2 separate regions of the Homo sapiens genome follow, and region 2 is linked to region 1. The links are contacts of gene promoters, found by promoter capture Hi-C in blood cells and fetal thymus (Javierre and others, 2016). All regions are on one chromosome and are shown on one strand. The core of a region is centred on a gene start or on the middle of the fragment in contact, and the rest is flanking DNA. Distances in the headings are between cores, read along the strand shown. Region 1 holds the start of WFDC8 (WAP four-disulfide core domain 8). Region 2 holds the start of WFDC5 (WAP four-disulfide core domain 5).

The links. Contacts are between HindIII fragments. The CHiCAGO score rates a contact against its expected background, and 5 or more counts as called.
Region 2: a contact is called between the fragment with the promoter of WFDC5 here and the fragment with the promoter of WFDC8 in region 1, in 4 of 17 cell types (M2 macrophages, M0 macrophages, M1 macrophages and 1 more). The highest score is 7.8, in M2 macrophages.

What each region holds. Positions count from the first base shown.
Region 1 is chr20:45,575,436-45,583,367 of GRCh38, reverse strand. It overlaps WFDC8 (WAP four-disulfide core domain 8), which reads left to right and starts at 4,084. Exons shown (of 6, transcript NM_130896.3): 1 at 4,084-4,146. The coding sequence starts at 4,121. RefSeq lists an enhancer at 4,334-5,269. The HindIII fragment of the contact is 6,723 bases long and covers 1-6,045 here.
Region 2 is chr20:45,112,141-45,120,072 of GRCh38, reverse strand. WFDC5 (WAP four-disulfide core domain 5) reads left to right here and starts at 4,899. Exons shown (of 4, transcript NM_145652.4): 1 at 4,899-5,074. The coding sequence starts at 4,990. RefSeq lists enhancers at 4,462-4,961, 4,962-5,463. The HindIII fragment of the contact is 2,929 bases long and covers 3,751-6,679 here.

The DNA.
Region 1 (7,932 bases), core at 2,835-5,334:
TTGTGTTGCATTTTGTTTTGTTTTTGAGGCTTTTATTGTCTCTGTTTCTGTGTTTCTGGGTTTCCAGCTTCTCTAGCACCCAGTCTTGAATATGTGAGGCAAAAAGAAAACTCAGTAATCCCGCTGCCGTGCTGTTCTTCAGGTCTTAAGGTTTCTGGCTCGTCTGCCTTGCCCTTATTACCTTTCAGAATCTTCTTGTGTATTTAATGTCCAGGATTTTTAGCTGAATTTCATCAGAGGAATAGAGAAAAGTCCATCTAGTTCATTTTCCCAGAAAAGTAGAAATCTCTGTCCTATGTGTTAGATTTTTTTAAATAAATAACTTAGGAGAAAAATTAGGAGAATGATCTCAAATGTTAGCATTGGAGAGAACTTCTTAAGCAAGAAATGTAAGACATAAAGAAAAATTAATAAGCATTATTGATTACATAACTCTTTAAATTTTTATAGAACAAAACACATAATAAATAAAAATCAAACTACAGGCTGAGGGAAATATTTGCAATACATATGACTAGCCAGAAGTTATTTTTTCTAATAAACACATTGATGAGAAAATGACAAACATCTCAATAGAAAAAGATTTGCACAAGCAGTTCACGAAAGAGAAAATTCAAATGGCCGATAATTAAAAGCACTTGAAGATTGCTGAGAGTAGGTTTTAAATGTTTTTGTCACAAAAAAAGATAGGTATGTGAGGTGATGGAGATGTTAATTAGCTTGATTTAATCATTTCACAATATAAGTATATGTATATGAAAATATCACACTAATATATATAAAATTATTTGTCAATTATAAATTTTTTAACTAAAAAACTTTAAAAAGCAAAGAAGATTAATATCAGTAGTAGTTGGGGATATGCAAATTAAGCAACTCTGCAATTTCCATAAGACTAGCAGTAATTTAAGAGCAGAGATGTTGAACAGAGTGTGGGCATCTATTTAAGGCAATTTTCAATCTACATTTTTATATGGATGGACTTACATGAGGTAGAGTTAAGTGAAAAGAAGCAAGTACAGTAGTAGTGAATGTATACATCATAATTTCATTTTGTTTTCCAAGTATCAGAACCCATATACATACATGATTGTATATATTTGGACGCAGAGAAAGATGGTAAGGGTACAAAACAGCCCATTAAAATTGGTTATTAATTATCAACCAAGGCTATTAATATTGAGGGAGTTAGAAATGGAGAGATGTGGCTTAGAAATTATTACCTTTTCTTTATATGTTCTTTGTACTGTTTCACTTATTGGGTATTTGATGTGTGTAATTTTATAATTAAAAATTCATAACTAGGACTCTTAGAAACTATTCCCAGTAAATCACCCCCCCAAAATATTGTCTAAAATACTTAAAATGCATGACTCTTTAAATCAATGAGTCAGTTGGCAAGAAAGAGGAATTCTTAAAAGCCAAAAATGATGTGAAGGTCTGACTCCAGAGAGATAAGGAAGTGCTTTAGTTAGAGGCTTCCCTGGGAGTATCTGCCAATGCCTGGTAATCTGCAGTTTGAATTTTAGTGGGCCCCTGGCAAGGGCAAGAAAAAAGAGCTAAGCCCTAAGCAATGTGAAAAGTCAGATCAGAAATCTCACTCACAAGGATCACCAAATGCTGACACCTTAATAAATGGATGAAACAGAAATAAATGGATGAAACAGAAACACACACATGCACAACTGTGGTGAAGGAACTTGCCTGTCTTGGCTTTGGCTCTGAACAAAACAGGAAAAAAGACTACTCTGGGCTGGGTGCAGTGGGTCATGCCTGTAATCCCAGCACTTTGGGAGGCAGAGGTGGGTGGATCACGAGGCCAGGAGTTCGAGACCGGCCTGACCAACATGGTGAAACCCCATCTCTACTAAAAATACAAAAAAATTAGCCAGGCGTGGTGGTGCGTGTCTGTAATCCCAGCTATTCAGGAGGCTGAGGCAGGAGAATCACTTGAACCCGGGAGAAGGAGGTTGCAGTGAGTTGAGATAGTGCCACTGCACTCCAGCCTGGGGAACAGAGCGAGACTCCATCTCAAAAAAAAAAAAAAAGACTATTCTGAGAATTTGTAACTGCAACCTTGTTTCCTTTCATAAGAGCAGAGTAGGAAAATTGGCACATGTGCATGGTCTGATAAATCTAAAGCTATGAATTTAATTCAAAATTGCATGAGTTGTTAGGGAAAAATTGAGGACAAGTTGATTCGGAAGAATTCTCCTTTAAACACAGGAATCCAAGAAATTCCACAAAGTATTGTTACATACATAAACTTCCATTAAATATGTACTCTCACAATAAAAAAAATCACACAGATCTTAAGAAAACAAGATGAAAAAAATCAAGAAAAACAACCAACAGCAGAGGTCCACAAAGACTTCAGATATTGGAGTTACTGTATTGTATTGTAGCGAGTTATTGTATTGTAGGAAAGGAACATAGAAAAAGGATTCCTGATTCTGTCTTTGGGGTAGGAAGGGCACGTGATAAAAACTTTCATTCAAAAGGTAAAAGACAAGCCAATAAGGGTTTTAGAAGATTACCCTTGATCCTGGAAGATGTTCATAATACATATAACTGAGGAAAGACATGACTCCAGTAGAAATCAGCAAGAAAAAGTCAGAAAACCCCAGAGAACAATGAGCAAAACATTTGAAAAGAAAATCAAAGAGAGGATAGCCAAGTGGTTAATAAAGATCTAAAAAGGTGCTCAACCTCATTAGTAGTCAAGAAATTTAAATTAAGTCCACAGTGATGTATTTCCATACTCGTAGCAGGATGGTAAAAATGAAAAGATTGTGACAGTTCTACATACAGCATGGTTATGGAACAATAGGAACTCTCAACTACCAATGGCAAGGCTGTGAATTGGTACAAACTCTTTGGGAAATAATTTGGTATCAGCTTGAGAAGCTGAAGATATGCATACCCTGTAACCCATCATTCCCTATGCTGAATGTATAACCTACAAGAACACCTGCCCACGTGCTCCAGCAAATGCACACAGAGTGTTCATAGCAGCTTTATTCTTTTTTTTACATGAGTAAATTGTTTAAAATTTTTTTGACATTTAAAAACATTTATTAATTCATTTAACGTAATAAACTTATTACATGTTGATATAAATAACATTTTTATTTAGAAAATCCTAGTTTTTTATTATACTTTAAGTTCTGGGATACACGTGCAGAACGTTATTACATACATGCTATGTATACACACAGCAGCTTTATTCTTAACAGCTGCAAACTATAAACAACTCAGTAGAGATGTGTGTAGTCATACAATAGATGGCATGGCAATGAAAATTGACAAAATACAGCTACACAAAACAATGTGGATGGAATTCATTAATATAATGTTGAACACAAAAAGCCAGGCACAAAAGAATACATTCCAAGTGACTCCATTGATATAGAACAGAAGCAGACAAAAACAAAAACATATTTAGGGGAATACATATGATCTTGAAAATATGAAAAAGAAAGTCACTACCATTAGCTGCCTTTGAGAGCATAGGAAGGGGTTGTGACTGGAAAAGAATGAAAAAGGAGCAGAAAGTGTTGGAAATTTTTTACTTGATTTCAGTGATAGTTTAATGAGTGGTCACTTCGTAATAGTTCGTTAGACTGAACATTAATGTTTCATGCATATTTTTATTTTTGTGGTGTTTTTCACAATACATATTTTTACAAAAAGGAAAAGTAGCTCTTCCTTGTTTTGTCTCCTTTTCTTTACTAACTGAACTAGTCAGTCCTAAAGCCATTAGATAGGCACATTTAGCAAGGTAGGCGTTTGCCCCAAGGGGAAGGGAGCCACGGCTGGCTCCGTGTGGGCATCAGAGCTGGAACAGGTCAAGGAGGGTGTCTCTGTAGGAGGGCTGCTGGCCTGGTGTGCTGGAGCCAGGGGTAGATGAGAATGCCCAGTGAAGAGGCAAGAAGCAGCATAGCATGGAGACCAGCCTGCCCATGTTGAGAAAGGCATCCCCCTGGGGCTAGAGGGGCAGACTGGCATAGAATGAGAGCCTGAGTGGGGTGAGCAGAGTGTCCAGGCAGGGGAGCAGATGAGGGAGGAGCCTTAGAGCTGGAGCAAAGTGAGGAAGCTGTCTCCATAGGGAAGAGGCCTGATGTGGACTGTCCGAACTGAAGGAGGGTGAGGAGGGTGTCTATGGGGGTGGGTAGCCAGACATGGAGGGTCTGAGCCCAAGGAGATGAGGAGGATACATAGAAGTTAGAGTGGTCGGCTGTGGGGAGTTGGGCCAAGCATAGTGAGGAGGGGTTCCACAGAACAGAGCTGTCTTGTGTCAGGAATCAGAGCCTAAGCAGGGTGAAGAGGGCATCAATGCATCCAGCGATTCTCCTGCCTTAGCCTCCCTAGTAGCTGGGACTACAGGTGTGCGCCACCACGCTCGGCTAAGTTTTGCATTTTTAGTAGAGACGGGGTTTCACCATGTTGGCCAGGCTGGTCTCGAATGCAACCTGATATGGCTGTTGGAGCCCAAGTAGGGTAAGTTGGGCATCTTTGAGTGGCCCAGTGTGGAGGGGCAGAGCCTGAGCAAGGTAAAGTTTGATATTTTAAATTAAACAAGCATATAATATGTATCTAAACATTTTCAAAAAATTAAAACAGGAGTAGTAGTGATGGGTTATATTATTATTCACAACTATTCATTCCATCTTTCCTTTAAGAGGACACTCCTGTCCATTACCTTGCAATTTTAGAACGGCCCGTGGAAGGAAGACACATTTCTGTCTCATTGACTTTGGGTTTGCTGTCAGCTGTGCTTTGCCTATTGGAGTATGAGCAGATGTAGCATATGCATAGTGAGTTTTGCACTGTGAGTTTCTGCCAGCTCCTTTGTGCTTTCTCTCTGCCAGGAGAAGGGGCCTAATCCACATAGAGGCTGCTTCTTTTGTCTTGGTCCCACAGCCTCAAGTAGAGCCCCCACTTGGAACAAAGCAGTAGACAATTTGCCTAGGAAGTCTTTTGTTGTGGCAAGCCATGGAGAGCTCAAAGTTCTTTGTACACCAAAGTAATAAAAATACAGTTGATTCCCATTACTTGGGGGTAGTTATGTTCTGTAAAGTCACTGTGAACACCGGATTAGCAAATACTGAGCCATTGCTCCTAGGGAAAATGCAAGCCTCTGACCACACATTTTCATCATTTGATCAATACATAACCTTGTTTTTATATGTGCTTCTGTCTGAAGACACATGACAGAGATGGTAATTAGAAGGTGCACACAGAAGACTTCTGGGAAGCTGGCTACTTTCTATTTTTTAATCTGTGTGGTTAATTATTAAATAAAACTCTACATACTTTATTTATTTATTTATTTTTATTTTTATTTTTTTTGTTTTGTTTGAGAGGGAATCTCTCTCTGTCCCCCAGGCTGGAGCATAGTGGTGTGATCTCGGCTCTCTGCAACCTCCACCTTCTGGGTTCAAGGGATCCTCCTGCCTTAGCCTCCTGAGTAGCTGGGACTACAGGTGTGCACCACCACTCCAGGCTAATTTTTGTATTTTTAGTAGAGACAGGGTTTCACCGTGTTGGCCAGGCTAGTCTTGAACTCCTGACCACAGGTGATCTGCCTGCCTCAGCCTCCCAAAGTGCTGGGATTACAGGCATGAGCCACCGTGCTGGCCCTGTCTTTATTTTTTAAACATGTATATAGGCCAGGCGCGGTGGCTCATGCCTGTAATCCCAGCACTTTGGGAGGCTGAGGCAGGCGGATCACTAGGTCAGGAGATTGAGACCATCCTGGCCAACACAGTGAAACCTCATCTCTACTAAAAATACAAAAAATTAGCAGGACGTGGTGGTGGGTGCCTGTAATCCCAGCTACTCGGGAGTCTGAGGCAGGAGAATCACTTGAACCCAGAAGGCGGAGGTTGCAGCGAGCCGAGATCGCACTACTGTACTCTAGCCTGGCGACAGAGTGAGACTCCATCTCAAAAAAAAAAAAAGACACCTTATGTAATATATATTATTGTTTCATTAACATTGAATTGTGGCTGAAAGCCCTGTAACTCATGCCTGAACCAAGCTTATCTGACACAAGTAATTTCTTTGTAAGGCACATTGCAGGCCTCTTGCTCTTAGGACACTTGACAGCACTTTAGTAATTCTTGGCAGCCATTTTAAACAGCAAACTCACCAACAAAAAGCACAAAAATGTGAAAAATGTGACACTAAGTAGACTGCAAAAAGGAAGCTTGTTTATAGTAGTAGAAGAGCTTAAACAAGCAGAGCGTTGCCTTGTTTGACTTCAGCTGGGAATGTGTACGTTGGGGGACTCAAATTTTTTGCCATTCTGCACATATCCCTGAATGACCACAAAAGCATCATGAGTATTGATTTTTGGGTAATAAATAAATTTCAGCAAGTAGGCAAATTGGCAAGTACAGAATCTGAATAATGAGGACTGAGAGTAGATAACTTGTAATAAAATTGTAGAAATGAATCCAAATATGTCATTAGTGCCCATAAATGTCAATTAATAGGTAATAATTTCTGGACTGGATTTTTACAATGTAGATTTACACGATTTGAAGGATAAACTTAAAACATAAGTAGAATGGTTGAACGCAAAAGAATGGAAAAAAGACTAGGCAAATGCAAACAAAGAAGAGAGAGTATAGTTTGATTAATATTAGGCAATAGAAAACTCTAAGGCTGGGCACATTGGCTCACGCCTGTAATCCCAACACTTTGGGAGGCCGAGGCAGGCAGATTGCTTGAGGCCAGGAGTTCAAGACCAGCCTAGGCAACATGGAAAGACCCCGTCTCTACTAAAATTACAAAAATTACAGGTGTGGTGGCACATGCCTATAATCCCAGCTCCTTGGGAGGCCGAGGCACAAGAATCATTTGAACCCAGGAGAGGGAGGTTGGAGTGAGCCAAGATCGTGCCACTGCGCTCCGCCCTGGGAGAAAGACAGTGAGAGACTGTCTGAAAAAAAAAAAGAAAACTCTAAGACGAAGTTTTATCTTTAAGGATAAAGGATGGCTTGCTAGATAATGGTAAAAGACTCAGTTCACCAGGAATACATTTGTATTTACCTAAACCAATCAAATCAGGATATATTAAAGCAAACATTGACATCATTATAGGCATAAATTGAGAAATCTATGGCTGTATTGAGGGCCCTTGACACACCTTTCTCAATCATTGACAGATCAAAAGGACAAAAAATGTAAAAGATTTAAAATATTTTAGCAGCACAATATGGAGATATGTACGGAGTGTTCTGTACTCAATATTTAGAGACAATCCTTCTCCGGTATCAGAATGTAGATATCTGACTAGGCAGCATTTAGAAGAAAATATCTTTGGACGAGGCTTACTAATTTACTTACTTACTCAGCCTGAACTTAGGGCAAGGTGTATTAAAGTGACTTATGGAGCTAGTTGTCCTCCTCAAGGTCTGCTTCCTAGTAACTGAGGCTAGAGGCACATATCTGGTTGAGTAGCCTTGCAACAGAACATGCTATGCTATGGGGATGAGGAGGGGTGTGAGCTAGGAGCTCTCAGCCATGGAAACAGGGCCTGGGGCTGGGCAAGCGCCTAACTGGGGAGAACTAGAGGGTAGCGAGATGTAATAGAGTCATAGTGGGCCCTTACCTGTAGTTCCTAAATATTGTAACCTGGGAATTCACACTGCTCCCCCAGCTCCTGGCCATCTGTAGACCTTTCAATTGCAAAATGCTGCTCAGTTTCCTGCAAAGTGCAACCTCTGCTATTTGGGGAAGCTGGGCAAAAAGATAGGTTCTGGGTGGTATGGGCATTTTAACAATATTAATTCTTCTAATCCATATGAAATATGAATATGAAATATCTTTTCATTTATTTATGTCTTCTCCAATTTCTTTCACTAATATTTTGTAGTTTTCAGTGTACAGATCTTTCATATCCTTTGTTAAATTTACTCCTAA
Region 2 (7,932 bases), core at 3,650-6,149, 460 kb after region 1:
CTGGAGTGCAGTGGCATGATCACAGCTTACTGTAACCTTGAACTCTTGAGCTCAAACAATCCTCTTACCTCAGCCTTCCGAGGGGGTAGGATATAGGCATGCACCACCATCCAGCTAATTTTTTAATTTTTTGTAAAGGTAGAGCCTCACTGTATTGCCCAGGCTGGTCTCAAACTCTTGGGCTCAAGTGATACTCCTGCCTTGGCTTCCCAAAGCTCTGGGATTATAGGCATGAGCCACTGCACCATGCCATGACTCTGATTTTGAAAGAGGATGTACAGTGTATAAAATATTATCAAACAGCATTGCATGTTTGATAGTATTTCACAATATGTGACAGAGAAATCTTTCACAATATACCTTTGTATCACACCTGCACATGTACCCCCTAATTCTAAAATGAAAGTTGAAAAAAAGGAAGAGTCCATGGATGCAGCAAACTTCATAGTTGTCTGATTTTTTAAAATTGCCACAGTCAACCTATCCTTCAGAAACCACTACCCTGATCATTCAGCAGCCTCAACATCAAGGTAAGACCCTCCGCCAGCAGAAAGATGATGATGACTCACTGAAGGCTTACATGATTATTAGCATATTTTAGCAATAAAGTATTTTTAAATTAAGGTACATACTTATTTTAGACAAATGCTATTTTGCACTTAATAGACTACACTATAGTGCAAACATAACTTTTAGATACACTGGGAAACCAAAAAATCCACATGGCTCACTTTAATCCCAGCATTTTGGGAGGCCAAGGTGGGAGAATCACTTGAGTCCAGGAGTTAGAGACCAGCCTGGGCAACATAGGAAGGCCCCCGCCCCCCGCATCTCTACAAAAAATAAAAACTAACCAAATATTATTGCAATATTCTCTTTATTTCAGTGGTCAGGAACTGAACCCACAATACATGCTTGTCTGTGCTGGCATAAGAATAAACAGTCAAAAGAAAAGAACGGGCAAGGCACGGTGGCTCACGTCTGTAATCCCAGCACTTTGTGAGGCTGAAGCGGGCAGATCACAAGGTCAGGAGATTGAGAGGAGCTTGACCAACATGGTGAAACCCTGTCTCTACTAAAAATACAAAAATTAGCTGGGTGTAGTGGCATGTGCCTGTAATCCCAGCTACTCAGGAGGCTGAGGCAGGAGAATTGCTTGAACCCGAGAGGTGGAGGTTGCAGTGAGTCAAGATCATGCCACTGCACTCCAACCTGGGTGACAGAGCGAGACTCCATCTCAAAAAAAAAAAAGGAAAAGAAAAAAAATGAAAACCCATAAACAGCCCCTGTTACAATAAGACTTAAGTTATTGATAAAGTTTTAATTCTTAATCAATGGCAAAAGTTTAAATTATTCACTAAATGATCATAGGACAATTGCTTAATTACTTACAAAAAAAAGATATTTCCTATTTCACGCTCTATACCAAGATAAACTTCAGCTAGATTAAAGAATTATCATGTCTTTCAAAAATCACAAAATAATAACAAGTAAATATAGTGAATATTTATCTAACATCAGAGTCAAAAAGCCTTTTTAGCATAAAAATAAAAGGAGAAAATATGAATGAAAAGATTGAATTGATTACCCCAAAATTTAATCCTTTGGTACTAAGCAAAAATGAGGAAAGAAATATTTGCAATATAGCATCAAAGCATTTATCAAGTTTATCTCATTCAGTTCTCAGAACCATCCTATAACACGTATATGATTATCTCTATCTCTACTGGTATACAAAAATAAACAGGGGTTTTACAAAATTAATGTCAAACAGATAGAGCCTATGGCACCAAGATTCAAAACTAGGTCTGCCTAACTCCAATATACATCTGTTCACTACTGCCCCTTGTGTATGACAGGTTAATAGATTCTTAATATATAAACAGCTCTTAAAACTCAAAAATAAAAGGACCCCCAATAAAAATGAGCAAAATACAAAAACAGGCAATTCACAGAGAAAGGATACAGTCAGTATGCGAATATGAAGAAATGCTCACCATCATGGGTATTAAGAGGAAGAGGAAGACAAATTAAAATGAAATATTGTTTTCCGTTAGCAAAGATTTTATTTACTTATTTTTTTAATATCCTGTATGTAGTAAGAATATCCACTAAGGATCTTTGGCTGTGAGCAACAGCATCTGAGCTTTGGACTGTTCTGTTTAGAGAACTGGCTTATCTGTTCAAGACTCTAATGAAGGCGTGGGCAAGTTAGGGGTGGAGAAGAGTGCAGTGGGTGTAACCTGGATCCAGTGCCCTCAGCTTTGATAGGAGAAGTACCTGCTGATTGGCAACCAACCAGAATGACAGCAGTCAGGAGGCAATGGTTCCACCAAAGGAAGAGACGCTGGGCAGACGAAACAATAGAGGTCTATGGCAGGGCAGGTGGAGGCTCTTGTACACTCACTTACTTCCTTTCTGAAATTTAATTTGACCAGATATATCCAACGCCTGGAAACATGACTGTGCCTTTTGACCTAGCATTTCTAACTTTGACAAATTTACTTTAAGAAAACAGTCAGAGATGTGACTCCAAAATGTACACAAAAAGATGGTTATCACAGCTTTATTTATGAAAGTGGAAAATTGGAAACCTCCATGTTTCATAATAGGATACTGATTGTGTATATTTTGGCATATCTTTTTTCCCTAAAAACTTTACTGAAGTGATGTTTTGACATATAGATCTAACAAAACAGCATGTAGCCATCAGAAAACATGATGTTTAGAGAACATTTCACAGCACAGGAAAATGTCTACAAAATAATTTTAATTTAAAAAGCATTGGCATGGTGGCTCATGCCTGTAATCCCAACACTTTGGGAGGCCGAGGCGGGTGGATCACCTGAATTCAGGAGTTTAAGACCAGCCTGACCAACATGGTGAAACCCCGTCTCTACTAAAAATACAAAAAATTAGCCAGGCATGGTGGCGGGCGCCTGTGGTCCCAGCTACTTGGGAGGCTGAGGCAGAGAATTGCTAGAACCCAGGAGACGGAGGTTGCAATGAGCAGAGATTGCCCCATTGCACTCCAGCCTGGATGACAGAGGAAGACTCCGTCTCAAAAAAAAAAAAAAAAAAAAAAAAAAGAGCATTTCATGGCTGAGCACAGTGGCTCACCCCTGGAATCCCAGCACTTTGGGAGGCCAAGGTGGGAGAATCACTTGAGTCCTAGAGTTAGAGACCAGCCTAGGCAACATAGGAAGACCCCCCATCTCTACAAAAAATAAAAACTAGCCAAATATTGGGGCGCATGCCTATAGTCCCAGGTACTCAGGAGGCTGAGGCAGGAGGACTACTTGGGTCCATGAGGTCAAGGGTTCAGTGAGCCATGATGGCACTGTGCACTCCAGCCTGGGTGACATAGCGACATTCTGTCAAAGACAGAGAGAGAAAGAGAAAGAGAGAGAGGAAAGAAGAAGGAGAAGGAGAGAAAGAAAGAAAGAAAGAAAGAAAGAAGGAGAAAGGAAAGAAAGAGAGGAAAGAAGGAAAGAAAGAAGAAAGAAATAAAAAAGGAAAGAAAGAAGAAAGAAAAAGAAAGAAGAAAGAAAGAAAAGAAAGAAAGAGAAAGGAAAGAAAGAGAGGAAAGAAGGAAAGAAAGAAGAAAGAAATGAAAAAAGGAAAGAAAGAAAAAGAAAAAGAAAGAAAGAAAAGAAAAAAGAAAGAAAGAGGGAGGGAGGGGTGGAGGGAGGGAGGGGTGGAGGGAGGGAGGAAGGAAGGGCTCATATATTTGTCCTCCAAAATAAAGCTTCCAAGGAGGTGCCAGCATTCCAAAAGCAACATCAGATCATAGAAGACAGAGCCTCTCCTATCTTAATAGCTTAGAAGACAGCACGAGAGATTCACATTAAACCCAAGGAAGAACTTCCTGCTGCCAGGGCTGTCCTGGATTGGAATGGGTAAGTGAGACAAGCCCTGTAATATCACCCTCCTTTCTCAGGATCAGATGAGGTATTGACCTGCTTTTAAAACCCAGGAACTGAATGAGGGTGATGGGGAGGCCACAGTGGGAAGTCCCAGCTTAGTCAGGAATTAGCTGCGTGTCCTTGGGCCAGTCCCCTCTCATCTCTATCTCACAGTTTCCTCGTCTTTCAAATGAGAAGGCTGAGAGAATGTACTTCGATGGAGTTTCTGTTTAGGATGTCCCTTAGGATGCCAAGTCTCAGCTCCCTCTCTTCTACCAAATGCAGGAGGCAACATCAGAGATACGAAATCTAAGGTGGGGGTCCCTGGATGAGATGACATTTTTTTGCTCAGGATCCCTTAGGGCCAGAGAAGAGGTTCCAGTGGCCACACATCTGCTGTGACCAGCAAACTTAGCCAAGCCAAAAGCCATGCTCCCCCACCCTCAACAGCCAAGCCAGCCCCAGGAAGAGGGCAGTTCTATCAGAAGCCACTGGTGATCTCACCAAAGGCGGGGTGGTCTTTCTCCCATCCACAGGACCCAAGAGGAGAGGCCAGGGCTGGCCTCACTCATTATGCCAGCCTGGGCCAGCCTTCTTTGGCTGCAAGCTCTGGCCTAACCCTAATGCCTTCTCCCTTCCTAGGCATCCAGAACTCTGCAAACCCCCACTCCTTTGCTATTCAAAGCTGACCTCTACCCGCTGCCTAGACATCGCTGGGGCTTCAACATCTTTGAGAGCCAGGATAGCAAGCATCTGCCTCAACAACCTTCACCCTGTGTACAGATGAAAAAACTGAAGCCCAGAGAGACAAGACTTGCCCAAGATCACAGCCCAAGTCACCGATACAGGCAAGACTGGATCTGAGTCCCCCACATGCAGGATGTGCCGCCACCCTATCTTCAGCTATTGTGACAGCATCCCTTGCACTGAGTCCTCGGGCCCTCAGGGGGTGGGGCCAAGATGAAGCAGGCACGGTGTCACTCCACACCCCCTCTCTTTCCTCTCCTGACTAAGTTTCTCTGGCTTCCCTGAGGCTGCAGGTGTTAATCTGGGGGGCCCTGGGCCCTGAGCCGGCAGCAGAAATATGAGGACCCAGAGCCTTCTCCTCCTGGGGGCCCTCCTGGCTGTGGGGAGTCAGCTGCCTGCTGTCTTTGGCAGGAAGAAGGGAGGTGAGTGCGGGAAATCCCTCTGCTGGGGGGACCAGATTGTCTCTACTTCTCTAGGGAGAGTAAGGGTTTGGGGGAAGGCAGGTAATGCCCTGTGGGGTGTGTGTGCGCGTGTGTGTGTGCGTGCGTGCGTGTGTGTATGTGTGGATGCCTGATTCTTAGTGCTTTCAGAAGCCTGTGTTTTTATGTGTGTACATTTGTGCCTGTCCACCTGCCTGTGTTGGTATCTGTAAGTGTCTTTTCTGCCAGTTTCTCGGTGCTTGTCTGTGCCTGTCTATATGTCAGGGGGTGGCAGGGCGGGGAATGCATGTGCCTGTGTCTGTGTAGACATGTGTCTTTGCGTCTGCTTGTCTGTGCAAAGCTCTGTCTGCACACGTACACTTAGGAATGGCTGCACGCATGTGTCTGAGCTTGGTGCCTGTCCATGTGTGTCTCTGTGCCTTCAGGTGTGGGGAGGGACCCTGTCTGTGCCTGCTGGGCTGTGGTGTGACTGGGTCAGTGGGTCCACCACCCCATCTGTGGAAGGGACTTGGGAATTGAGGAGAGGGTGTGGCTTCTGGGATCTGGGCTTTGTGGGGAGGAAGCTCTGTCTCTAACTCTCATCGCCCCCAACCTCCTGTCCCCATTCCCACCCCTGACAAGGCTGGGGCTGGCCTGCTGACAGGTGAGGGAGGGCTGCTGAGTGGCTAGACAGGTGACTCCTGATCTGGGTGAGGCCTCCACCTGCGTCCTTTTCTGGGGCTGGAACACTCCAACCTACATTCACCTGTGCAACCCTTGCCCTGCCTTAAAGAAAGGGGACAGTAATGGGGACAGGCTGAGGAAGGAAGTACACTGGTGAGCTCCAAGGCTGGACCCTGTGTTGGCTGTGATTCATGCACCATCATCACGTAACTCCTCGACAAGGTGCTGTGAGGACAGGACTATTTTCATCCCCATTTTGCAGATGAGGAAAATTGAGGCATAGCGGGGAACCACTTAACAAGGTCAAAGACTGACTCTGAGTTAGTGCCAAATGTGGCATTTGAATGCAAGTATTTGAAATCAGAAAGATTCACCTTACCAACTATTACAGCAAAAACCCAGGACTGTACAGGACAATGCACCCCCAACATAGGAAGGAGCTGAGAGACCAGAGAATGACTTAGACAAGGCCAGATTAGCAAGTGCATGAGTGCAAGTATTTGAAATCAGAAAGATTCACTTTACCAACTATTACAGCAAAAACCCAGGACTGTACAGGACAATGCACCCCCAACATAGGAAGGAGCTGAGAGAACAAAGAATGACTTAGACAAGGCCAGATTGGCAAGTGCATGAGTTTATTAGGACTTCCAGGCAGGACACTCCTGGAAGGCAACAGGACAGGTCTGGAGACTTACTCCTTGTAAAATGGGGTCCCATGCCTCTCTCTCAGGAGTAAATGGTGTCTCGAGGAATAAGGGCCTGGCACACAGTAAGCACAGCATAAGTGGGTGATTTGGGGGAGTCATTGTGTTCCCAGGGAGCACACCCCAATATTCAGCCCAGCTGCTCAGAGGCAAAGAGCTGGCACAGCAGAAACCGAGCCTGCGCAGGGCCACTCTGCATGGGCAGGTGTGACAAGCTTGTCTCTCCCCCAGTTCACCACACCTTGTCCCCCACTGGTTTCTCTCCTGTAAGACATTGCCGAGCTGTTGGTAGAATTTCAGACAATGGAGGAAGGTGACGAAGCCAAGGGAAGGGAAGTCTCAGTTTGTTGCCTGTGGAAGCCCAGCCGCCTCTGTTTATAAGAGCTCCCCATTCTGCCCCCTTCTCACTCAAACGTCTGGGTGTCTCTGATACAAAGAGCCTGGCATAGTCCCTGATAAACAGCAAGTGCCTAATTAAATGCTGTCAGTGGTTATGTGGTATTGGGAAGATATATGTGTCTGTGTAGCTCTGTGCATATGATTCTGTATATATGACTGTGTATGCTTATGTATGTCTCTCTGTTCACATACATATGCTATATATTTATATATTTATATACATAACTGTGTGTGTCTGAGTGTCTATCTGTGTGTATGTATCTATGTGGGTAGGCATGTGTAAATGACAGTGATTATGTTCCAGCTCATATGTACATACATGACTGCCTGTTTATATATGTTTATAAATATATTGCATATATATAACTCTCTGATATATGTCCATATGTATATATGTGTGTATTAAGTTGAACCATGTAAAATTGCTACTTTTGTAGATAAAACAGTTGACTATCTGCAGTTTCCTACTGTTAAGCCTGTAGCTAATTGTGTGTCTAGATCTAAATGTGCTTGTGTATTTGACTATGTGTGTATCGTCTGTGTGTACAAGTGTATATATTTAACCATGTTTGGATACGATTCTTTTGCTCTCTAAGTCTACACACCCATGGCGCATGCATCTGGATGACCATCTGTGTGTGTGACTGTCTCGATGTACACATCTGTGAGTGGAGAACCTGGTTTGGAGGGACTGTTAGGAAAGGCAGGCAAACAGAGTGAGTGTGACCACCCAGAGCCTCTCACGCCGGCTCTGCACACGCCAGGCTTTTATCCCCACCTCCACATTGCAGCTATCGCAGTTCTTCCACTGGAAATGCCAGCTGTCATGCCCCATCCCTATCTGTCCATTCCCCAAGGCCAGCCCCAGGCCCCTCGCCACAGAAGCTCTCCCTGCCTGACCCACCCGGCTCCACCGGCTTTGAGTGCACGCAGCTCCGTTTGGCCCACCCTTTGAGGCCTGCGCACCTTTGACTTGGACTTGTGAATTCAGGGCTAAACCTTGGACCTCAGACAGTTTCCCAGGAACCCTCCCATCACCCCCACCACCCCAAACCCACACTTTTTCCCCCT